Linked DNA regions of Homo sapiens: regions 1, 2, 4, 5, 6 and 7 are each linked to region 3. Evidence: promoter capture Hi-C in 16 types of primary human blood cells and fetal thymus (Javierre and others, 2016). All regions are on one chromosome and are shown on one strand. The core of a region is centred on a gene start or on the middle of the fragment in contact, and the rest is flanking DNA. Distances in the headings are between cores, read along the strand shown.

Region 1 (3,015 bases), core at 331-2,830, 460 kb after region 3:
GTTTCCTTATTATCAGTGCTTCTCAAACTCTCTGGGGTAAAGGACCAATTTCTATCCTCTTCAATCTGTCATAGACTGATACTTTTGTACAATGCAATAAAAATGAAATATGAGGAAGAAGAGATGAAATACAAGCACACATTTTTTATTATTAGATTCAACAGACAAAAATGACTCTAAAAGTTTTGCAATGCTGACTCTCAACTTCTGGTCTTGTCTTGTCCTGGGCCGGTAACAGTTTGCAGACTAGCACTGCTCTGTGTCATGCTGTGGCACCTGCTGCTGTGGTAGTTGAAGCCCCAAAAATGATTTCTTTTACTTTTTCACTCTAATAAAATATTAAATGATATCACAGATGCAAAGTACGTGACACACAACGGGGTAGTCAACCACTGTTAGTTGCCATTAAGCCTTCGCTAGCAGTTAGCATGGGAGAGGTAAAAGGACCCACAGGCTGGCAATTAGGTAGGAAAACTGAGAGGAGACTTACCCACTGAGGATGTGGCATACCTAGAGCTTACTGCCAATCAGTGATGAGAATGCATACTATGTTATTTATATTATTCAGTGTATGTATTATGAGTTTAAATTTTCACTAGATGGAATCATACTCTACTAATATATTTATGTGTTTCATACAGAAATCAAGAAATTGTTATAGAAATTTCTTTTGAGACCTCTCCAAAATCTTCTGCTCTCCAGTGGCTCACTCCTGAACAGACTTCTGGGAAGGAACACCCATATCTCTTTAGTCAGTGCCAGGTAAAAAGGATTCCAGAATGATTTCTGATGCAGAAAATTTCAGCACCTATGGTTGAATGAAGCAAAATGAACAGTGGTTTTATGGATTATGTAGGTTTTACCTAATAAAATGTATTAATTGATCTTATAGAAACATATAAGATGAATTATATATTTTCATTTTATCTTTCACTATTAATACACTCATGCCTTACTTTAAATAAGAAGCTTCTTTCAGTTTGGAAATATGTCCACCTAGATTGGACTCTCTAGGCCTGACTTAGAACTTAGCAGAGAGTAGGTACTCAGTAAATAGTCATAAAATGAAAGGAAAAATTAATAAATAATATGTACTGGTTATGAAAAATGCTAATAGTAAAGAAATGGAAAGTGAAAGATTTAATTTCCAAACCTTTTCCAGACACCATTGCCCAGAGGTAACCACCATTGAGTTTGGAATGTAGCTTTTCCATATTTTTCTTACACATTTACAAAAGTATGTATTATATCAATATATTAACTGTACCTTTAAAATTGCATGACTTAAACTACTTTTGTTTTCTGTTTTAAAACTAAGGGTAAAGAGCCATACAATTAGAGATAACCTGTCACAAGGATAATACATTTCAAACTGTCTTCTGAAAGAAAAAATACCTACTTTTCATAGTAATCAAATAATTTACAATTAAGGGAACTGACTTCATTAAACGTTTGCTCTATTTCCAGGCATTGTGCTAGATTCTTTACATGTTTCATCCCTCCCAATATTCCTGTGTGTTAGGTTCAAATTTCAATACAAGTCCATTTAAAAAAGGAATTAGCATATGAATCAGACCTGTTTACTTTCTATGGCCACTTGAAACATCTTTTTAATCTAAGAAACCCTCAGTTTAATAATCTAGAAGAGATGAAATGTTCTACGCAAGAGTGTACAAATTGCACAATCTGTATCTCATAAATATCTGATTTTCAGGCAGTATGTCTTAATAGAATGTCTATTAACCAAAGTTGGCAAGAAATGCAAGATTTATGAGTCATGAAAATGTTAATTTTGAATATATTATTCCATTTCTTATTGGCAGCAATGGTGGGAATATGGGAAACAGATTTCAGCTAAATTAATAAATGATTGAGGTGATAGGAATCATGTAGACATGATTTTGTTTGATGAATTTGCTTACGGTTGTTCTGTATGCATATTTGCCTGGGTTTGGCCTTATCCAATGAAATACATTTAAAAACCCCTTTGGTGTTGCCATGTCACCTAACTAGAAACCATTAAGGAACTATAGAGGCATGGTCTTGGAAATCTATTTTGGGAGAGAGAACCAGGTGGCTCTGCTAGTCCTACTTAATCCATCTAGAGGTCATTTGGGAGCCTATATCTTTGGAGAATTTTCTAGAACTGAAATGAAAAGACCTGGAGTTTGGGGGTTTTAAGAAAGCTTGTGGTGGAATGAAGTATGTTTAGGATTTGTAATAGCTTCAGAGAAGGGTGTTAATATCAGAATTCCTTTGAGTTTAGTAGACTGTCTCAATGAGGCTGGGTTTTCATTTCATTGTTCACCAGCAGTAGACAGACTTATTTGTAAACAGACCGGGTATAAGATTGTAGGTGCTCTTTTTTTTTTTTTTTTGGAGACAGGGTCTTGCTGTGTTGCCCAGGCTGTAGTGCAATGGTGCGAACTTGGGTCACTGCAGCCTAGAACTCCTGGGCTCAAGCGATCCTTTTACCTCAGCCTCCTGAGTAGCTGGGACTACAGGTGTGCACCACCATGCCCAGCTAATTTTTTTTGTGTAGAGGTAAGGTCTCACTATGTTGCCCAGGCTGGTCTCAAATTCTAGAGCTCAAGCAATCCTCTCATCTGAGCCTCCCAAAGTGCTGGGATTGCAGGAGTGAGCCACGGCACCTGGCCTGTGGTCATACTGGATGGAACCAATGTTAATAACGATTGGTGTGGCAGTACAGAAACACTTTGCATATGATATGAATGAATATGTCTAGATGGTATTGAAAGAGACTGTTCTTTCTCCCTTCTTTGCTTCTTTGTTTTACTTACAAGGTTTGCTGCAAGATTGAAGTGTCAGGATTACAGCAACATTTCTCAGGCTGTGTTCATTAGAATACTGACATCCCATTAGGTGTTAAACCAGAGAGAAATGGGTTTTGTGTTAACATAAATGTAAGAAATCAAACAGGTTTCTTTATTGTAGGTCTGTTCAGAGCCTTCAGGCGGCTAATATTCTAGTGGCTCTGCAAGACAGTGGTGCAGT
Region 2 (2,706 bases), core at 114-2,613, 420 kb after region 3:
TCCAGCCTGGCGACAGAGCAAGACTCTGTCAAAAAAAAAAAAAAAAAAAAACCCTCCACTTTTTTTTATTTTTAATTTTTATTTATTTAATTAATTTTTTTGTATCATTATTTTTTTTGTGATGGAGTCTTGCTCTGTCGCCAGGCTGGAGTGCAGTGGTGCGATCTCGGCTCATTTCAACCTCTAACTCCCTGGTTCAAGAGATTCTCCTGCCTCAGCCTCCCAAGTAGCTGGGATTACAGGCACACGCCACTACGTCAGGCTAATTTTTGTATTTTTAGTAGAGACAGGGTTTCACCATGTTAGTCAGGATGGTCTCAACCTCCTGACCTCGTGATCCGCCCGCCTCGGCCTCCCACAGTGCTGGGGTTACACACGTGAGCCACCGTGCCTGGCCTAAAAAAAAGTTTTTATTGTGTCCTCAGTGGGGATCAGAAAATATAGTTACTGTGTTTTTCCTTCTGCATTCTGTCTGAAATTATGTCTTATTTTTAAATTTATTATTGAATGCCGCATACTGTCATTTTGTTTCCTATCTTGGATCAGGTTGTAGGTACTGTGTGTGAGTGTGCATTTGTGTGTGTGTGTGTGTGTGTGTGAGCGAGAGAGAGAATGTTGAATTGAGGTCTTTCAAGGAAGGGTTAAAGAGCCATGTGCGAATGAGCTTCTGTTCCACGGCAGGCATTTAGAATCACGGTGCTTAGAAGACGTGGTATAATGATAGGCTGCTGGTGATGATATTGCTTCCCTGGGACGCTTCAGGAAGGGTGAGGAGACTAATTGGCTGGTCTGGCAAACAATTCAAGATGAGACCAAAAGGAGGAGCCATCTGCTGGCAGGAAGTAAATGGAAATTCACCTTAGCGCTGGCCCTTCCACAGTGGGTGCACAGATGGTGACAGGCGGAACCCTTAGGGAGAGAGCGAAGGCCCTCATCTGCCAAGAGAGGAACAAAGGGGATTTGCTATTGCCTCCAGTGAACAGCCTCTTCTTTCATTTTGAGATCATGTAAGGAGTTTGCCCACATCACAAACCTGTTAGTATGAGCTTGGTGGCCTTGGGGAGTTTCCAGGCAGTATTACTGTGTAGAACTAAGAGTGAGGCTTTAGAGGAAGCAATGGAGATGGAAGTAATTGGTTTAAGATCCTGGACATGGGCACCCTCTAATCTGGGATGACCTCATGTGGCTGTGCAGCACAGAACAGCAACGGGGCTCCATTGACATGCAAAAGGCATTTCCTCGACACTCCCCCTCCCAGCCCTGCTGCAGGTCCCAGTCTGCACAGTGCTTCAGGGCAGACCTCCTCCTGACTGCTTGTAAGTTGAACCTTCGATTCAACTTTATTCCACCTGCTCAATGTAGTCCTTCGAGTTTCCAAGCAGGAAGCATTGCAAGGGCGAGTAGCTGCTGCAATAAGCCCTCATTTCTGCAAAGGAGTGGTAGTGTATGTTTTCCCAATATACCCACCTCAGATATAGTAATTTCTAAACATATCAGTGGAAACAGAATAAAACCTCTTAGATGCAAATTATCTTGGTTGCAAGGGTAAGGAGTAGGGGGGAAACCAATATGAGTTAATAAAAGAACTGAACATACTTAAAATAACATGAAATTTTTTCCCTCTAATTCCATGAGAGGTTAGACATGTAATTTCTTTACACTTGAATACATTGAGAGAATCAGTTAGGATAGCACTTTTTAAAATTTTTAATTTTCTGTCTGAAAGCCATCACTGTAAGGACTATTACTGAAAATTTAAAGGCCAAATATTTAAACGATATGAAAAATATACCATCTTGCTTAACAAGAAGTCCTGAGACAGGACAGATGCAAAGTTCGTCAACTCAATGGCTTAACAAGGTTAAGAAAGATTTGGGCTGTTTACAACCTTCCTATTCCGTTCTCACTTAGCAGGGCAGTTTTGAACCACCAGGTACCTCCCCTCATGGTCACAAGATAGCAGCCATGGTTCCAGCCATCTCACACAAATCCTACAACATCCTTTAGATGAATATTCCCTCCGTGTGTGTGTGTGTGTGTGTGTGTGTATGTGTGTGTGTGATCACAGAGGAAAAAACCTTCCCCAGGAGTACCTCATATACATACAGCTTAAACTGCTAAAACAAAAAAACTAAAAAATACGATGGTTCAAAGAAGAAAGCAATTTATTTTCTTTTCATGTATCAGTCCCAATGTATGTAAGTCTTTCTGTCTTGCTCTGCCATTCTCTGGAGTCATGTGCTTGCTTGAAGCTGGATTAGCAGTACCACCCAGTGTGCAGAAAGGGATTAAGAGAGAAAGTAAAGAACAAGCATTCTCCTTCTTAAAAACATGGTCTAGAAATTAGACTCATTATTTTTTTCTCACATCCCATTAGCCAAAACTTGGCCACACCTTGCAACGATGGAGGCTGGGAATTATAGTCTGTAATTGGGCATGCGCCTAGCTAACACTGAATGTAACTTCTGCTGAAAAGAAAGGTAAAGTGAATGTAGGGAGAAATTAACATTCTCTGCCATACTCCTCTTGTCAATTTCTGCTCACGTCTCATTGGTCAGAATTACTTAACATCATGGGATCTAAACCACTAACAGCTAGGGAATGAGACCACCAGGACTGGTTTAGGTCAGGGTTCTCAACCTCAGCACCATTGACATTTTGGACTGGATGGTTCTCTTTGTTGTGGGGGCTGTCCTGTGCATTGAA
Region 3 (2,871 bases), core at 320-2,819:
TGCAACACTCAGGCCAGGCGCAGTAGCTCATGCCTGTAATCCAATACTTTGGGAGGTCAAGGTGGGAGGATCCCTTGAGCCCCCAAGTTCAAGGTTTCAGTGAGCCAGGATTGAGCCACTGCACAACAGCCTGTGCAAGAGTGAGACCCTGTCTCAAAAAAAAAAGATAAAATTGCAACATTCATCTCATATCCTCCAACACCATTCCCTGTTCTATTTTTCTCCCTAGCAGTCATCTCCTTGTAAGATTATTTACTTACATATTTGTTTAGTGGTTGTTTATACCCACAAAAACATATGCTCTATAAGGACATGGATTCTTATATGTTTTGTTAACTTGATGTTTTCCTAGTTCCTTGAACAGCACTTGATATACAGTATGTGCTCAATAAATAGTTGTTATATGCATAAATAAAAAATATTTTATTTTATTTATTTATTATTATTATTTTTTGAGAAGGAGTCTTGCTCTGTCGCCCAGGCTGGAGTGTAGTGGCGCGATCCCAGCTCACTGCAACCTCTGCCTCCCGGGTTCAAGCAATTCTCCTGCCTCAGCCTCCTGAGTAGCTGGGAGTACAGGCATGTGCCACCATGCCCAGCTAATTTTCGTATTTTGTATTCATGTATAAATTTTTGGCTCGCTCAAGGGTTTCACAACTTTCCATGTTATGAGTATATAAATTTGTATATGGAGAAAAAGGAATAACTTCGAGGTAGCTCAGGTTCATGAAGCTAGCTCTTGATACAATGAAGTATGTCATCCTGTGAACATGTGCACTTTAATTCCTTCTTATATTGCTATTAGGATTACAGTGACTTTTTCTTAATTTTGCTATTCATTCTGCGCAACTGTTTGCCTTTTTGGGAGTTCTATCACCATGTTATTACTGCAAACTGCGAACTCTTTTTAAGGTTCTTTCCTGCTTATGTTACCATCTTTCTTTTCTGGTCAAATAACAAATGGTGAGTTATGAAACATTTCTGTGTAGATTTTTATTTTGACCTGAGCAGGAAGCCAAGATATAACAGCTCCCAGGAATTAAGGATTGTTAAGAGCGACGAGTCTCCACTTCTTAAACTTTGTCTCTCCTGGGCCCTTCAGCCAGCCCCTGCGTCCGCAACGCTGAACCATCTCTGGGGCCACCACCTGCATCCTCCAGCCCTTTCCAGGGGTCCCTCCTCTGGCCGGCGCCCTCCCCAGTGCCCCGCCAGCGCTTACCAACGCCGGCGGAATTCGTGCTTCTCTTCCTCCGTGGTGGCTAAAGCCTTCTTTTTCCTCATAAAGCCTAACAACTCCTGGATCTCCTTCTCACAAGAGGCCAGGAGCGGGTTTTTCGCGTCCAGCGGCCCATAAAACACGGCTAGGGGCAATGAGTCCTCGGGGCAGGTCCACTGAAGCAGCGAGCTCCGGGAGCTCCCCTTCGACTCTGGGGGCGACCTCGAAGTCGCGGTGGAGGTCGGCGGCAGTTCTGGCAGAGACCCCGAGGTGGTAGAGTCGTCTGACGGAGAGCTCGAGGGGGAGCCCTGCGCCGCCATATTGACGCGCCCCGGCCCGCCTGGAGTATGTGTACACGCGGTTGCCTGGCGACGGTCTCGTGGCAACCGGGCATCCCGCGCGCATTCCGAGAAACACAGCGGCCCCTGGAGGGCAGAGCGAGAAAGAACCAGGTCCAGAAAACAATGATGCTCCTGAGGGCGTTGCCTGGTTGTGCGCTGGCACCGCTGTATGAAATGCGAACAGAGAATGTTCTGAGCAGAGCGCTGGCGAATATTAGAGCCAAAAATTTAAGGTCACAAATCCAGACTATACTCTTTATCCATGTTGGCCACTTAATAACGATAATGATGACGACCATGACCATTAACGTGTGTCAGGCATTAAGCATTTGAAACATGTACTTTCATTTATCTCATTTAATCATCATAACTACTTTACAACTTAGGATACTATTAGTATATCCATCTCACAGTTTAGGAAACCAAAGCTCAAGGAGGTTAAGTCATTTGACAAAAGTCAGCGTACAACCGTAGTGTCAGCGACCAGGTCCTCCAAAGGGAACTTGTGACTCCAAAGCCTGTGCTCAAAATGAATAGGCTGTATTGATCACTCCCCAAAACAAAGCTTATTAATCAAATTGAAATTAGAGAAATATCTGACAAGCAGTTTAAGAATCAAATACAGTTGGCCCTCCAAATCTCGGGTTCTTCATCTGTGGATTCAAGCAACTCCAGATTGTAAATATTCAGAACAAAATTAGAAATAACAATACAACAATAAAAATAACACAAAATACAACTATTTACATGGCATTTATACTGTATTAGGTATTACTAGTTATCTAGAGATGATTTAAAACATCCTGAAGGATGTGCACAAATTATATGCAAATACTACAGCATTTCATATCAGAGGCTTGAGCATCCACAGATTTTGGTATCTGCGGGTGTCATGGAACTAGTCCCCCACAGATAGCCAGGGAGTACTGAATATGCAGCTGATCCATTCTCTTTCCTCTATTTGTACCTTGAGGTCTGTAACTGTGGACATGATGTCTATGCCTCTAATAATTATGATTACATCTATTTATGCACATTCCAGCCTTACTTTAATTATCTCTGTATTCTAAATTAATGTGCATTTTGCTCAACCTTAACCATAGGACATTAATACATACTAGTGGCCTGAAGTGTTAACTCTCAAAATACTTTGCATTTTAAACAGGGCTTTTAGGAGACTTTACTTCTGATGGGGAAACTACAGACCTCCAGGGAAATACTTGGGGAGTTTATTCTTAGCCTGTGTATTATAGGCAAAAGTCAGAGTTAAATTTATTAAAGTATGAGTATTGAGAAAATGGAGAACCTTCTTTT
Region 4 (3,139 bases), core at 535-3,034, 440 kb after region 3:
TGTGTAAAATGTGAGGCATTCATTCTTCAGAAAAACACGTGGGGGTTCAATAAGTGTGTCTTAGTCCATTCAGGCTGCTATAACAAAATACCATAGACTGGGTAGCTTATGCACAACAGAAATTTATTTCTCACAATTTTGGAGGCTGAGAAGTCCTTGATAAAGATGCCAGCAGATGTGATGTCTGGTGAGGGCCCATTTTCTGGTTCATAGATGGTGCCTTCTTCCTGTGTCTTCACATGGTGGAAGGGCATACAAGCTCTCTGAAGTCCCTTTTGTAAGAGCACAAATTCCATTCACCAAAGGCCCCATCTGCCAATACCATCAACTTGGGGGTTAGGATTTCAACATATAAATTTTGGGGGTGACACAAACATTTAGACCATAACAAAAGATGAGTTTTTTTCTGAATTTGCTTTTTGTTCCTAACTTTGCTTATAACTGTCAACCTCATAAGAAGTATTTTCCCTCTCAAATACCCATCCAAACTTTACACATTCATTCATTAGAGGTTTCCAAAGTAGTATGGACATAGGCGTATGGACATAGGCACATGGCAATTATTTGGATGCAGGCAGAAACTATTAAATCTTTAAGATTATTTATGTAACTGGCTTCACAAACATAATTTGTAACATACAATTATAAACAACTATATTTTATTCTTCTACTGTCCCTTTAATTTTTCTCAGTGAACTGGTATTTCCTCTGCCTCTGGATAAACCTTGTGCAGGCTCGTGATTTTTCTGGATCCTCAGATAATTACAAGTTCTATGATCATGTTTCATATATTGCAGCCTTAATTTAGAAGTTAGAATGTAAGCATAAGTGAGTGCCTGGGTCAGCTAAGGCTGCCAAAACAAAATATTATAGACTGGGTGGCTTAAACAACAGATATTCATTTCTTACAATTCTGGAGGCTGACAAGTTCAAGTTCAGACTGTGAGCAGATTCAGTGTTTGCCATGGCCCCTTTTCCTGGCTTGCAGATGGCCACCTTCTTGCTGTATCTTCACATGGCAGAGAGAGGAAGCTCTAGTCTCTCTTCTTCTTATAAGGGCACTGATTCCATCACAAGGGATCTACCCTCATGACCTCATCCAAACCTAATTACCTCCCAAAGACCTCACCTCGTAATACCCTCACATTGGGGGTTAGGGCTTCAATATATGAATTTGGGGGAGACTTAAACGTTTAGTTCATAATATTCTGCCCTTTGTCCCTCTCAAAATTCACATCCTCCTTGCATTTAAAATACATTCATTCCATCTTAACAGTCTCAAAAGTCAACTCATTCCAGCATCAACTCTAAAGTTTAAAGTCTCATCTAAATATCATGTAAATCCAATATGAGTGAGACTCAAAATTCACCCTAAGGCAAAATTCCTTTCCAACTGTGAATCTGTGAAACCAGACAAGTTATGTGCTTCCGAAATACAATGATGGAACAGGCTCAGGATAGATATTCCTATTCCAAAAGGGAGAAATTGAAAGGTAGAAAGGGGTGACAAGTACCAAGAAATCCAAAATCTAGAAGTCAAACTTCATTAGGCTTTAAAACTGAAATACAATCCTCTTTGGCTCAAAGAATGCTCTGCCCTGTAGGCCCACTGGGGTGGTGGTCCTCCCTTCCAGAACCACTGGAAGGTATCACCCCCATCTTTCAGTGGGGTGTCCCTGCTTCTTCAGCTCAGTGTAGCACTGCCCACATGGCTGTCTGTGAGGGCCACACCCACATGAGTGCTGAGTAGCAGTCCCACTCTTTGAAACCAAGATGGAGGTAGCCTTGTTCCCAGGGGCCTTTCCACTCTGGGCCTGTGGTGGGAGTAGCAGCCCTGATGATGTCTGAATTGCCTTTGGGATCCTTCCTCTCTTTTCCTGAAGGGGATTGCATATTCACAGCCTTACTTCATTCCATCTTGTTTTCTCTTTTCCTTTTAGTCCCAACTGGCAGGGGACTAAAGCATTATTTCTCCTGGAATAATCCCAACTCTATTTCTGGCTTCTGTTGAGATGGCTGATTAGGTCCATGGTTGATACTCACACTACTCTCCTTATCAAATGGGTGACCAGCCACACTCTTAATAATCTCTTCTTTTCTTTTCTTTTTTTATTTTTTAAAATAGAGATGGGGTCTCACCATGTTGCCCAGGCTGGTCTTGAACTCCTGAGCTCAAGTAATCTGCCTGCTTTGGCATCCCAAAGTGCTGGGATTATAGGCAGGAGCCACCATGCTTGGCCTAACTCTTCTGAACATGGTTTCTCATTTTTTTTGCAGTAAGGACAGGCTAAGAATTTTCCAAATCTTTAAGTGCTGGTTATTTTTTGATTAACAATTTCTTCTTCAATTCATTTCTCTCTTCTTAAATTTTACTATCAGTGGTCAAGAGGAACCAAGCTGCTCTTTCAGCACTCTGCTTAGAAATGGCCTCAGCCAACTATCCAATTTCATTGTTTGAAAGTTCTACCGTCCACAAAACACTAGAACATAAACAATTCAGTAAGTTATTTGCCACTTTATAAAAAGGATTTTCTCCATTGTCCAATAACATGTTCCTCATTTCCATCTGAGGCCTCACAGAATAGCCTTTGCCACCTATATTTCTGCTAGCATTCTGTTCACGATTGTTTACGCATCCTCAAAGAAGGAAGACAGAAGCTCTTTTTGAGTCCTCACCAGAATCATCTTTAGCAATTTTTTCACAGCAACCTTGGCTTTTTGTAGCATGTATCTCAAAACTCTTTTAGCCTTCACCCATCACCCTGCATCATTACTGCTTCCACATTTTTAGAATTTATTTTAATTTAAAAAATGTATATAATGTAATTCAGAAGATCCAAAGATATCCCTTATGCACCATATGGATGCCAATTTCACTACGCAAATTTCACCATGCAAATTCTTCCTCCCTCTGAAATACTTTGGTCTTTATTAGTAGTAGTATTATTTTAATTTGAGATTCAGGAGGTACATGTACAGGTTTGTTACATGAATATATTGCCTAATGCTGAGGTTTGGGCTTCTGCTGAACTGTCACCCAAATGGTGAACATGAACATAGTACCCAATAGGTAGTTTTTCAACTCTCTTTCCTCCCTCCTTCCCTTTCCCCTTTTGGAGTCCCCTGTGTCTATTGTTTC
Region 5 (2,826 bases), core at 327-2,826, 370 kb after region 3:
TCTTAGGTAAACACCTAGGATAAGAACTGCTGGATCCTGTGATAACTCTATGGTTAACATTTTGAGGACAGACAGACTCTTTTCCAGGGTGGTTAAACCATTTTATATTCCCACTAGCAATACAGAGTATCAGGGTTCCAACTTCTCTACACCCTCATCAACAATTATTATTTGTCTTTTTAAAAATAGTCATTCTAGCGGGTGTGAAATGGTATCTCCTTGTGGTTTTTATTTGAATTTCCCTCGTTATACATCTTTTGTTGTGCTTATTGGACATTTTGTGTATCTTTCTCGAAATATTTGTTCAGATCCTTAATCCATTTTTTTTCTTCTTTTTTTTGAGACAGAGTCTTGCTCTGTTGCCAGGCTAGAGTGCAGCAGCACGATCTTGGCTCACTGCAACCTCTGCTTCCCGGGTTCAAGTGGTTCTCCTGCCTCAGCCTCCCAAGTAGCTGAGACTACAGCTGCCCACTACCACGCCCAGTTAATTTTTGTATTTTAAGTAGAGGTGGGGTTTCACCATGTTGGCCAAGCTGGTCTTGAACTCTTGACCTCAAGTGATCCACCTGGCTCGGCCTCCCAAAGTGCATGGATTACAGGCATGAGCCACCGCGCCTGGCCTATTGACCCATTTTTAAATCGGGTTGTTTTCTTTTTGTCGTTGAGTCATGAGTTCTTTATATATCGTGGAGAGTAGACCCTTATCGGACATATGATTTGCAAGTATTTTCTCCCATTCTGTGGGTTGTCCTTTCACTTTTGATGGTGTCCACTGACGCAAACATTTCTAATTTTTATTAAGTCCAATTATCCATTTTTTCTTCTGTTGTGTATGTTTTTGATGTCATACCTAAGAAAGCTTTGCTTAACCCAACGTTATGGAAACTTACTCCTATATTTTCTTCTAAGAATTTTATAATTTTGGTTTTCACATGGAGGTCTATGATTTGTTTTGAGTTAATGTGTGAATATGATATGAGATAAGGGTCCAACTTCATTCTTTCACATGTGGATATCCAATTGTCCCAGATCCTTTTGTGAAGGACTATTCTTTCCCCCATTGAACTGTCTTGGCATTCTTAGCCACATCACTTTCTATTCCCCCATTTAAACAATGTAATAGATTATATTAGAATAGACAACATCAAAGTATAGTTAACCATGGACTCTAAAGCCAGACCTGCTGTACTGAACCTCCACAGTGTGACCACTTACTAGCTATGTGGCCTTTGGCAAATCACTTCTCTGTGCCTCAGTTTTTACACCTGAATAATGTGTTCTTCATAGAGCTATTGTAAATATTAAGTGGGTTAAAAAAATTAAATGGGTTGGTATATGTAAAGCACTTAAGCTCAGGTGTGGTGGCTCATGCCTGTAATCCCAGCACTTTGGAAGGCTGAGGCAGGGGGATCACTTAAGCTCAGGAGTTCAAAACCAGCCTGGACAACATGGCAAAACCCCATCTCTATAAAAAACACAAAAATTAGCCAGCCATGGTAGTATGCACCGGTAGTCTCAACTACTCAGGAGGCTGAGGTGGGAGGATTGCTTGAGCCCTGGAGGTGGAGGTTGCAGTGAGCCGAGATCATGCCATGACACTCCAGCCTGAGCGACAGAGCCAAATCCTGTCTCACAAATAAGTAAAGCTAAAAAGCACTTAAAACAATGCCTGGCAGGTGATAAACACCTTGTAAGTATTTTGCTATACAATTTCTACAAAAAGTTTTTGCTCAGTTTCTGCCATTGTGAAGAAAATAATGTTTATGAATCTGAATCACAAGGCATGATTTGTTTCTTATTGACCACGTTTGTAACAGTAGATTGCTAAAATAATGCCACATAACAATCAAAAATCTTAGTGGCACACAGCATGAGGCATTTACTTTTTTTTTTTTTTTTTTTTTTTTTGAGACGGAGTCTTGCTTTGTCACTAGGCTGGAGTGCAGTGGCGCGATCTCAGCTCACTGCAACCTCTGCCACCCAGGTTCAAGTGATTCTCCTGCCTCAGCCTCCTGAGTAGCTGAGACTACAGCTGCGAGCCACCATGCCCAGCTAATTTTTGTATTTTTAGTAGAGATGGGGTTTCACCATGTTGGCCAGATGGTCTCCAACTCTTGACCTCGTGATCCGCCTGCCTCGGCCTCCCAAAGTGTGAAGCATTTATTTCCCATGAGTTTGGGGGTGGCTGGGCAGCTCCACTGATCTCATCTGGGCTCACTCACTCCTCTGTGGATCAGCTGATAATCAGCTAATCTAGGCTGGGCTTGGCTGAGCAGGTCTGCTTCAAGCTTCAGGTCTTGCCAAGCTTGGCTCCCCATCACTGGACTTGGTTCTGCTCCACATGTCTTCTATTTGGGCCTAGTCTAAGGGGTAGCAGCTTCCTGGGGGAAGCTCTTATCATGATGTTAAAGGCACAAAAGGGCAAACTTAATCCTCTAAGCACGTTTGAAGTCTCTGCTTGTCTCCTGTCTGCTAACATCCTATTGGCTGAATGACAAGGTCAGAGAAGTTCACTCCCACAGTCTCATTGATCAAAGCCAGTCACACGACTGAGCCCAACATCAGTTAGATACAAAACAACGATCTGTTGAGCAATAATCTAATATATTCCTAGTCAAAAGAGTTTGAGAAGCATTGCTCTAAAGCAGCAGTCAGCAAACTAGTGCCTGCAGGGCAAATTGAACCCACCACTTTTTTTTTTTTTATATATAAAGTTTTACTGAAACCCAGCCTGGCCCGTTTATTTATGTATGGCTGCTTTTGTGATACAATAGCAGGATTGAGTAGTTGCAATAGAGACCTCATGACCTGCAAAGCCTAAAATAT
Region 6 (2,900 bases), core at 162-2,661, 500 kb after region 3:
TTTATGTTTATGACTGGCTAATTTTTCTCTTATGAAAGCAAAAGATACAAAATCCACGGGTATGTAGGTTCGTTACAATAATCACAGTAGGAAACTTTGCTCTCTCCCCCGACAGGGCCTGGCACTCATCAATGGGACGCAGATGATCACATCCCTGGGCTGTGAAGCTGTAGAGCGAGCCAGTGCTATTGCACGGCAGGCTGACATTGTGGCAGCCCTGACCCTTGAGGTGCTGAAGGGCACCACCAAAGCCTTTGACACTGGTCAGCAGGGTTCTTCCTTTTGGTTGTTATTCATTCAACCAGAGGTGGTGGGGCGGGGTGGCTGAGATCTTTAGACACAGAAGTGGTGGGGGCAGGTAGTAGGGAAGGAGAAAACCCAAGTGCCTGTGGCGTACCCAGTGTGCTGCCTCTTCATCTAGGCTATGGCACAACTGATCTTTGAAAGAACTGCAATTTACAGATACACACAGCCCGGAAGTTGAGTGACTTGCCTGAGAGCACCCAGGGATCTGGGTGTGTCAAGCTCTGTGCTGTCTTAGGAATCTTTTTACAGGACTTAGGAGTCCTGTAAAAAGGAGTAGGATTAGAGTTGGTCCCGACTAGAAAATTGGGGAAGAAAAACTGTCGAATTGGTAGCTTATTTAGAAAGTAGTGAATTTTGACGACCTCCCAACTATAATATGAAAAAGGGCAGAACATTGTCTAAAAGTGAATGAGTTAAATTAGGCCACTGTAGGGCTCCCTCCTGTTATTCGCCCTGTTCCTTTAAGGTAGGCCCAGTGTCTTGAGTGGAATTCCCAGTGGTCTCAACATATAGTTTGCTCTCAGATATTTAAAGTAGAAGGAGTCAAGTCAATAAGGAAAATCGTGCTTTCGGAGTTAAGTTTCTAATTCTGAGTGGTGGCTAAGGACCCCTGGGACTTTTGAGGGCTGTGTCAGCACCGTAGATGGTCCTGAACCATTGATGGTCATTTGTTCTAATATCAGAATTACTCGACCTGGCATGGTGGCTCATGCCTGTAATCCCAGCACTTTGGGAGGCCAAGGTAGGAGGATCGCTAGAGCCCAGGAGTTTGAAACCAGCCTGGGGAACGTAGTGAGACCCCCATCTTTAAAAAAAATAAATAAATGGAATTATTCAGACTTTTTCTCCTTCATCAATTCTAGACATTCATGCTCTTCGACCTCACCGTGGGCAAATTGAAGTTGCTTTTCGGTTTCGGTCACTCTTGGACTCAGATCACCACCCATCAGAAATAGCAGGTCTGACCATGTTTATGGGAGTGACCTATTTGGTTACGTGTTTTGTGAAAAGAATTGGTAACATGATCCCTGTCTCATCCCCTCCACCTCTTCCACAGAGAGTCACAGGTTCTGTGATCGCGTCCAGGATGCATACACCTTGCGCTGCTGTCCACAGGTAAAATAAAGAAAAAAAAAAAGGTCAATAAAAAATGCCAATAAAGTTTTTCTTTCCCCAGGTTCAGGATGAAAAATTTTAAAATAGGAAAGTGTTAGAAAAACATGTAATGGTCAACTATAGTCCAAATTTCTTACTGTCTCTATGAAAAGTTATGTATATTTTACCTTTATGTGTGCAATTGTTGTAAAGTTTCTATTCTATATGGTGAACTATTTGTTTTCTTTTGATTGTTCAACCTACTTTCAGAGGACAACCTCTTTTTTTTTTTTTTTTTTTTTTTGAGACAGACAACCAACAAATAACCTCTTTGATTTGGAGACAGAGTCTCACTCTGTCACCCTGGCTGGAGTACAGTGGCATGATCTCTGTTCACTACAATCTTCACCTCCCAGGTTCAAGTGATTCTCCTGCCTCAACCTCCCGAGTAGATGGGATTACAGGCATGTGCCACCATGCCTAATTTTTGTATTTTTAGTAGAGATGGGGTCTCACCATGTTGGCCAAGCTGGTCTCGAACCCCTGACCTCAAATGATCCACCTGCCTCAGCCTCCCAAAGTGCTGGGATTACAGGCGTGAGGACCGTCCCCGGCCCAGACAACCTCTTATGTTGATTCAGTGCCCTAACTTTTAAAAATTCTTAGTAATAAAATCATAACCAGTTAGTAGAGTTGTACTGTTTCTCCCTGTTAAGATGAAACTTTAACCAGATAGTCAGAGGTGTTTACAGGAAAGTCTTAATTATATCATTTTGAAACTCAGGTGCATAGTAATGGTTATACCTTACTTGCATTTTATGGGCAATATAAATTATTTTAAATGAATTTGTGATGCTTAACTTTAAATTAAAAATGCAGATGACCTGGGTTGGCATTAGGCATCTGTATTACAGATGTGTAATTTACATATGACAGTTAGAGAGCCAGTCATCTCAATAAACCATATTTTGGTCTGTGCCAAATTTCAGTCTATGGTGTAATAGAGAGTCCTCCCTAGAATAAATACCCTCATTTCCCTTTAGTCAGCAAGTTATCTTTTCTAGCTAGCTTATTGAGCAATAGATCAAAACACCTATGGGTAAGAATTGCCAAATTAGATCTACAGGAAGATTAAGTCCTGATGTAAGACTTCCCTGATATTTTAATAACGATAGCAGATTCTATGTGACAGGCACCATTATCACTGTCTTTCATTTATTAATTCATTTAATCTTCCCAACTATAAGATACTCTTTCTCCCATTTTGCAATGGGGAAACTGAGGCACAGAATTAAGTATCTTGCCCACGATCACACAGACAGATAATTACTTCCTTGACTTCTGGGAGAAACCAGAGCCAGGTGCTGCTTTATAGCATTGTGGCTATTTCTGGGGTTTGTACAGCGTAGCTGCCTTATGTGTGAGCATCTTCTAATGTGATGCCTTCGTGCTTAATGAACTTTACCGCCTTGGATAATAGCTACCATTTGAGTAATCTC
Region 7 (2,748 bases), core at 166-2,665, 480 kb after region 3:
TGATTTTTGATTCCTTTTTGAATTGTGCAAATATGTCTTTACTCATGAAGCAGGGAGGGTACTTTAAATCACAAACAGTTATATTTGGAAAGGCTATTTGAAAGTCAGGTTTATCTAAGGTGATATTATATCTACTCTCAATATAGAAAATTAAGGGTTTGAGACAGGGTCTTGCTCTGTTGCCCAGGCTGGACTACAGTGGCGTGATCATGGCTCATTGCAGCCTCAACCTCCTGGGCTCAGTCAGTTGTCCCACCTCAGCCTCCCGAGTAACTGGGACTACAGGCATGTGCCTCCATGCCTGGCTAATTTAAAACTTTTTATACAAACAGGGTCTGTGTTGTACAGGCTGGTCTCAAACTCCTGGTCTCCAGTGATCCTCCCACCTTAGCCTCCCAAAGTGCTGGAATTACAGGCATCAGGCATGAGCCACTGTGCCCAGCCTAGAAAATTAAGTTTTATGGGGGGAAAAATTGATGTTGAAGGCATTAATCCTGATTTTTCTTGCTTCTTAACTCTTAAAAAAAAAAAGTATGCAAAAATATTTGCATCTTACCTTTCTTCTTTTCCTTTTAAATCATTTATAAGATACTGCTTCCAATATGGCAATTTCACATACCAGGTAAATCTAAAATGATCTTGGGTGACCAGCTGCTGACTATTAGTGGTGCAAAGAATCGAAGCACTTTTGCTCTTTGTTCACTTTCTATGAAGCTTCTTAAAGAGGAGCTTCTTCATATATGTACTAAAATAGAACCCTTTACTGAAGCCAAAGTAAGGATGAGCCCTTGATAATTCTTTAATGAAAAATAACAGAAGATTTAGGAATACTTTTATTCCTATTAATTTGCAACAGATTTATCATTTTTTTACGTAATTTCAACTTTTAAGTTCAGGGGACACATGTGCAGGTTTGTTACACGTGCATATTGTGTGATGCTAAGGTTTGGGGTATGATTGATCCCATCACCCAGGTACTGAGCACAGTACCCAGTAGTTTTTCAACCCTTGCCCCACTCCTAGTAGTGCCCAGTATCTATTGTTGCCACTTTTATGTCCATGAATATACAGTCGTTTAGCTCTCACTTGTGAGAACATGCTGTATTTGGTTTTCTGTTCCTGTGTTAATTCACTTAGGATAATGGCCTCCAGCTGTGCAATCAGTTCAGCTATTGCCTTTTAAAACCTGTTTTGTGTAGTTGACAAACTTGTCATGAAGAAAAGTATAAGAGATTTCTATGGGAAACAGGATTTTTTAACAGTGTGAGTGTATTAAAATTCTCTGTTTTAGTTTGAAAAATGTATTCCAGCTTATTTGGTGCTAGTTAAAACTGCTACTAATTTCTGCTCAAATATTCCTTTGGGCCCAGCAGTTAAGGTGGATAATGATCAACTCTTCAATATTAGTAGAAACAGGCATTGTTAGGAACAGATTCAGGACACTGTATTCACTAATGCACTCTTTTCCTTATGTATTTTATTTCTCAATGATTTGTCTTAAATAGTAAATAAATGCAAAAGAATATTTATAACATATTCATATGGTGTATAAAACAATTGTGTGACCCACCACTAGCATAAGAAGTAAAATCTTAGCGGTACCTCTGTAGCATCCCTCCCCATCTTATGCCCCTCTCCACCCTCCTTGCTGACCCATCCAGGTTACCATTGTCCTGAATTTTGGTTTATCATTCTCTTGCTTTTTATGTTTTTACCACATAAATATATCCTTAATTAATATATAGTTTAGATTTGCAGGTTTTTGCACAGAAAATGAGCTGGAGCTGTAAGTTCTCATATTAAGGATAAGTTGTAAAGGGAAAAGAAGTATTGCTATTAAAGAGAGTTCTGAAGAGGGGGAAGATGCAAAATATTTATTTAAAAGGGTATATACCTATGCATTAAATTTAGTGGAAGGATATACAGAAACTACTAATATTAGTTACTGAGGAGTAGTACTTGGAGACAGGGAGCAGATCCAAAAGAATTTTTCCTTCTGTCCTATTTGATTTTTTAGTATTTGCATATATTTCTTTTAAAGTAACAAAAGCCCTAGTTTAAAAGATTATAAAAGTAGTTCTAAAAGATTTAAAAATCCTTATTTTTATAAGCTTTATTTAATATTGCTTAATCATCTTCTCAAAGATTTTTGAGAGTAAATCCAAATTTGAAAAGTGCAGACTCATTTTTATTTTTCTTAGATGGTTTCTAAGATTAAGTGGGGAAAACAGAATATGTGGGGATGGAGGAAAACATTAGTTTATGGCCTTACCAATTTATTAATGTAATATTTAAAAATATACGATTTCATTCTTTACCTTTTTGAATTGGTCTATAGATTAGTTGACATGCATACATTTTGAAATGTTTCTTTGCTTTGGAAATTTCTATACCTCGAATGGTACAATGAATGTCAACAGTTTCTTCCACTCTTCCTACCCATAATCTACTTTTTCTTAAGTAATATAGATTCTAGGAGTCATATCAGCTATTTAAATTACAGTAACTCAATCTCAGGATTATTTAAGTAACTCAGGCTTAAATTTATTTTGAATAATCTTGTTCATTCATATGGTTCTTTTTCTCAATTTTTACTTTTATGTCAGATAAACCAATAAGTATTATTAAATTGTACTTGAACAAAAATAACTAGGTAACATTTATTTCAGGCCAAAGAAGATGATTTAAATTCATTCAATGCCACAGACCTGAAGGATCTCTCTTCTCATCAATTGAATGAGTTTTTAG

What was found. Contacts are between HindIII fragments. The CHiCAGO score rates a contact against its expected background, and 5 or more counts as called.
Region 1: a contact is called between a fragment that was not itself captured here and the fragment with the promoter of CFAP54 in region 3, in 16 of 17 cell types (fetal thymus, neutrophils, naive CD4 T cells and 13 more). The highest score is 15.7, in fetal thymus.
Region 2: a contact is called between a fragment that was not itself captured here and the fragment with the promoter of CFAP54 in region 3, in 17 of 17 cell types (naive CD8 T cells, non-activated CD4 T cells, naive CD4 T cells and 14 more). The highest score is 18.9, in naive CD8 T cells.
Region 4: a fragment that was not itself captured here is called in contact with the fragment with the promoter of CFAP54 in region 3 in 15 of 17 cell types (activated CD4 T cells, total CD4 T cells, naive CD8 T cells and 12 more); the score reaches 23.5 in activated CD4 T cells.
Region 5: a fragment that was not itself captured here is called in contact with the fragment with the promoter of CFAP54 in region 3 in 4 of 17 cell types (activated CD4 T cells, M2 macrophages, naive CD4 T cells and 1 more); the score reaches 7.3 in activated CD4 T cells.
Region 6: a fragment that was not itself captured here is called in contact with the fragment with the promoter of CFAP54 in region 3 in 1 of 17 cell types (neutrophils); the score reaches 6.8 in neutrophils.
Region 7: a contact is called between a fragment that was not itself captured here and the fragment with the promoter of CFAP54 in region 3, in 5 of 17 cell types (neutrophils, total CD4 T cells, monocytes and 2 more). The highest score is 9.5, in neutrophils.

What each region holds. Positions count from the first base shown.
Region 1 is chr12:96,025,191-96,028,205 of GRCh38, reverse strand. LTA4H (leukotriene A4 hydrolase) reads left to right here. Exons shown (of 19, transcript NM_000895.3): 3 at 642-762. Among named protein-coding and RNA genes, the nearest start is that of LTA4H, 8.9 kb to the left of the region's middle. The HindIII fragment of the contact is 1,217 bases long and covers 972-2,188 here.
Region 2 is chr12:96,069,280-96,071,985 of GRCh38, reverse strand. No RefSeq gene overlaps it. Among named protein-coding and RNA genes, the nearest start is that of TRD-GTC2-8, 35 kb to the right of the region's middle. RefSeq lists an enhancer at 229-729. The HindIII fragment of the contact is 5,233 bases long and covers 1-2,706 here.
Region 3 is chr12:96,488,275-96,491,145 of GRCh38, reverse strand. It overlaps CFAP54 (cilia and flagella associated protein 54), which reads right to left and starts at 1,569. Exons shown (of 68, transcript NM_001306084.2): 1 at 1,220-1,569. The coding sequence starts at 1,536. RefSeq lists an enhancer at 1,321-1,530 and a silencer at 1,421-1,715. The HindIII fragment of the contact is 3,410 bases long and covers 1-2,124 here.
Region 4 is chr12:96,050,517-96,053,655 of GRCh38, reverse strand. LOC124902990 (a long non-coding RNA gene) reads right to left here and starts at 1,008. Exons shown (of 2, transcript XR_007063413.1): 1 at 910-1,008; 2 at 103-312. The HindIII fragment of the contact is 8,479 bases long and covers 1-3,139 here.
Region 5 is chr12:96,117,316-96,120,141 of GRCh38, reverse strand. No RefSeq gene overlaps it. Among named protein-coding and RNA genes, the nearest start is that of LINC02452, 54 kb to the left of the region's middle. The HindIII fragment of the contact is 1,429 bases long and covers 862-2,290 here.
Region 6 is chr12:95,984,430-95,987,329 of GRCh38, reverse strand. HAL (histidine ammonia-lyase) reads left to right here. Exons shown (of 21, transcript NM_002108.4): 12 at 116-263; 13 at 1,170-1,265; 14 at 1,364-1,422. Among named protein-coding and RNA genes, the nearest start is that of HAL, 10 kb to the left of the region's middle. RefSeq lists a cis regulatory region at 1,302 and an enhancer at 1,230-1,374. The HindIII fragment of the contact is 6,490 bases long and covers 1-2,900 here.
Region 7 is chr12:96,006,331-96,009,078 of GRCh38, reverse strand. It overlaps LTA4H (leukotriene A4 hydrolase), which reads left to right. Exons shown (of 19, transcript NM_000895.3): 16 at 2,670-2,748. All of the region lies in intron 3 of LOC102723340 (a long non-coding RNA gene), which reads right to left. Among named protein-coding and RNA genes, the nearest start is that of HAL, 11 kb to the right of the region's middle. The HindIII fragment of the contact is 1,397 bases long and covers 717-2,113 here.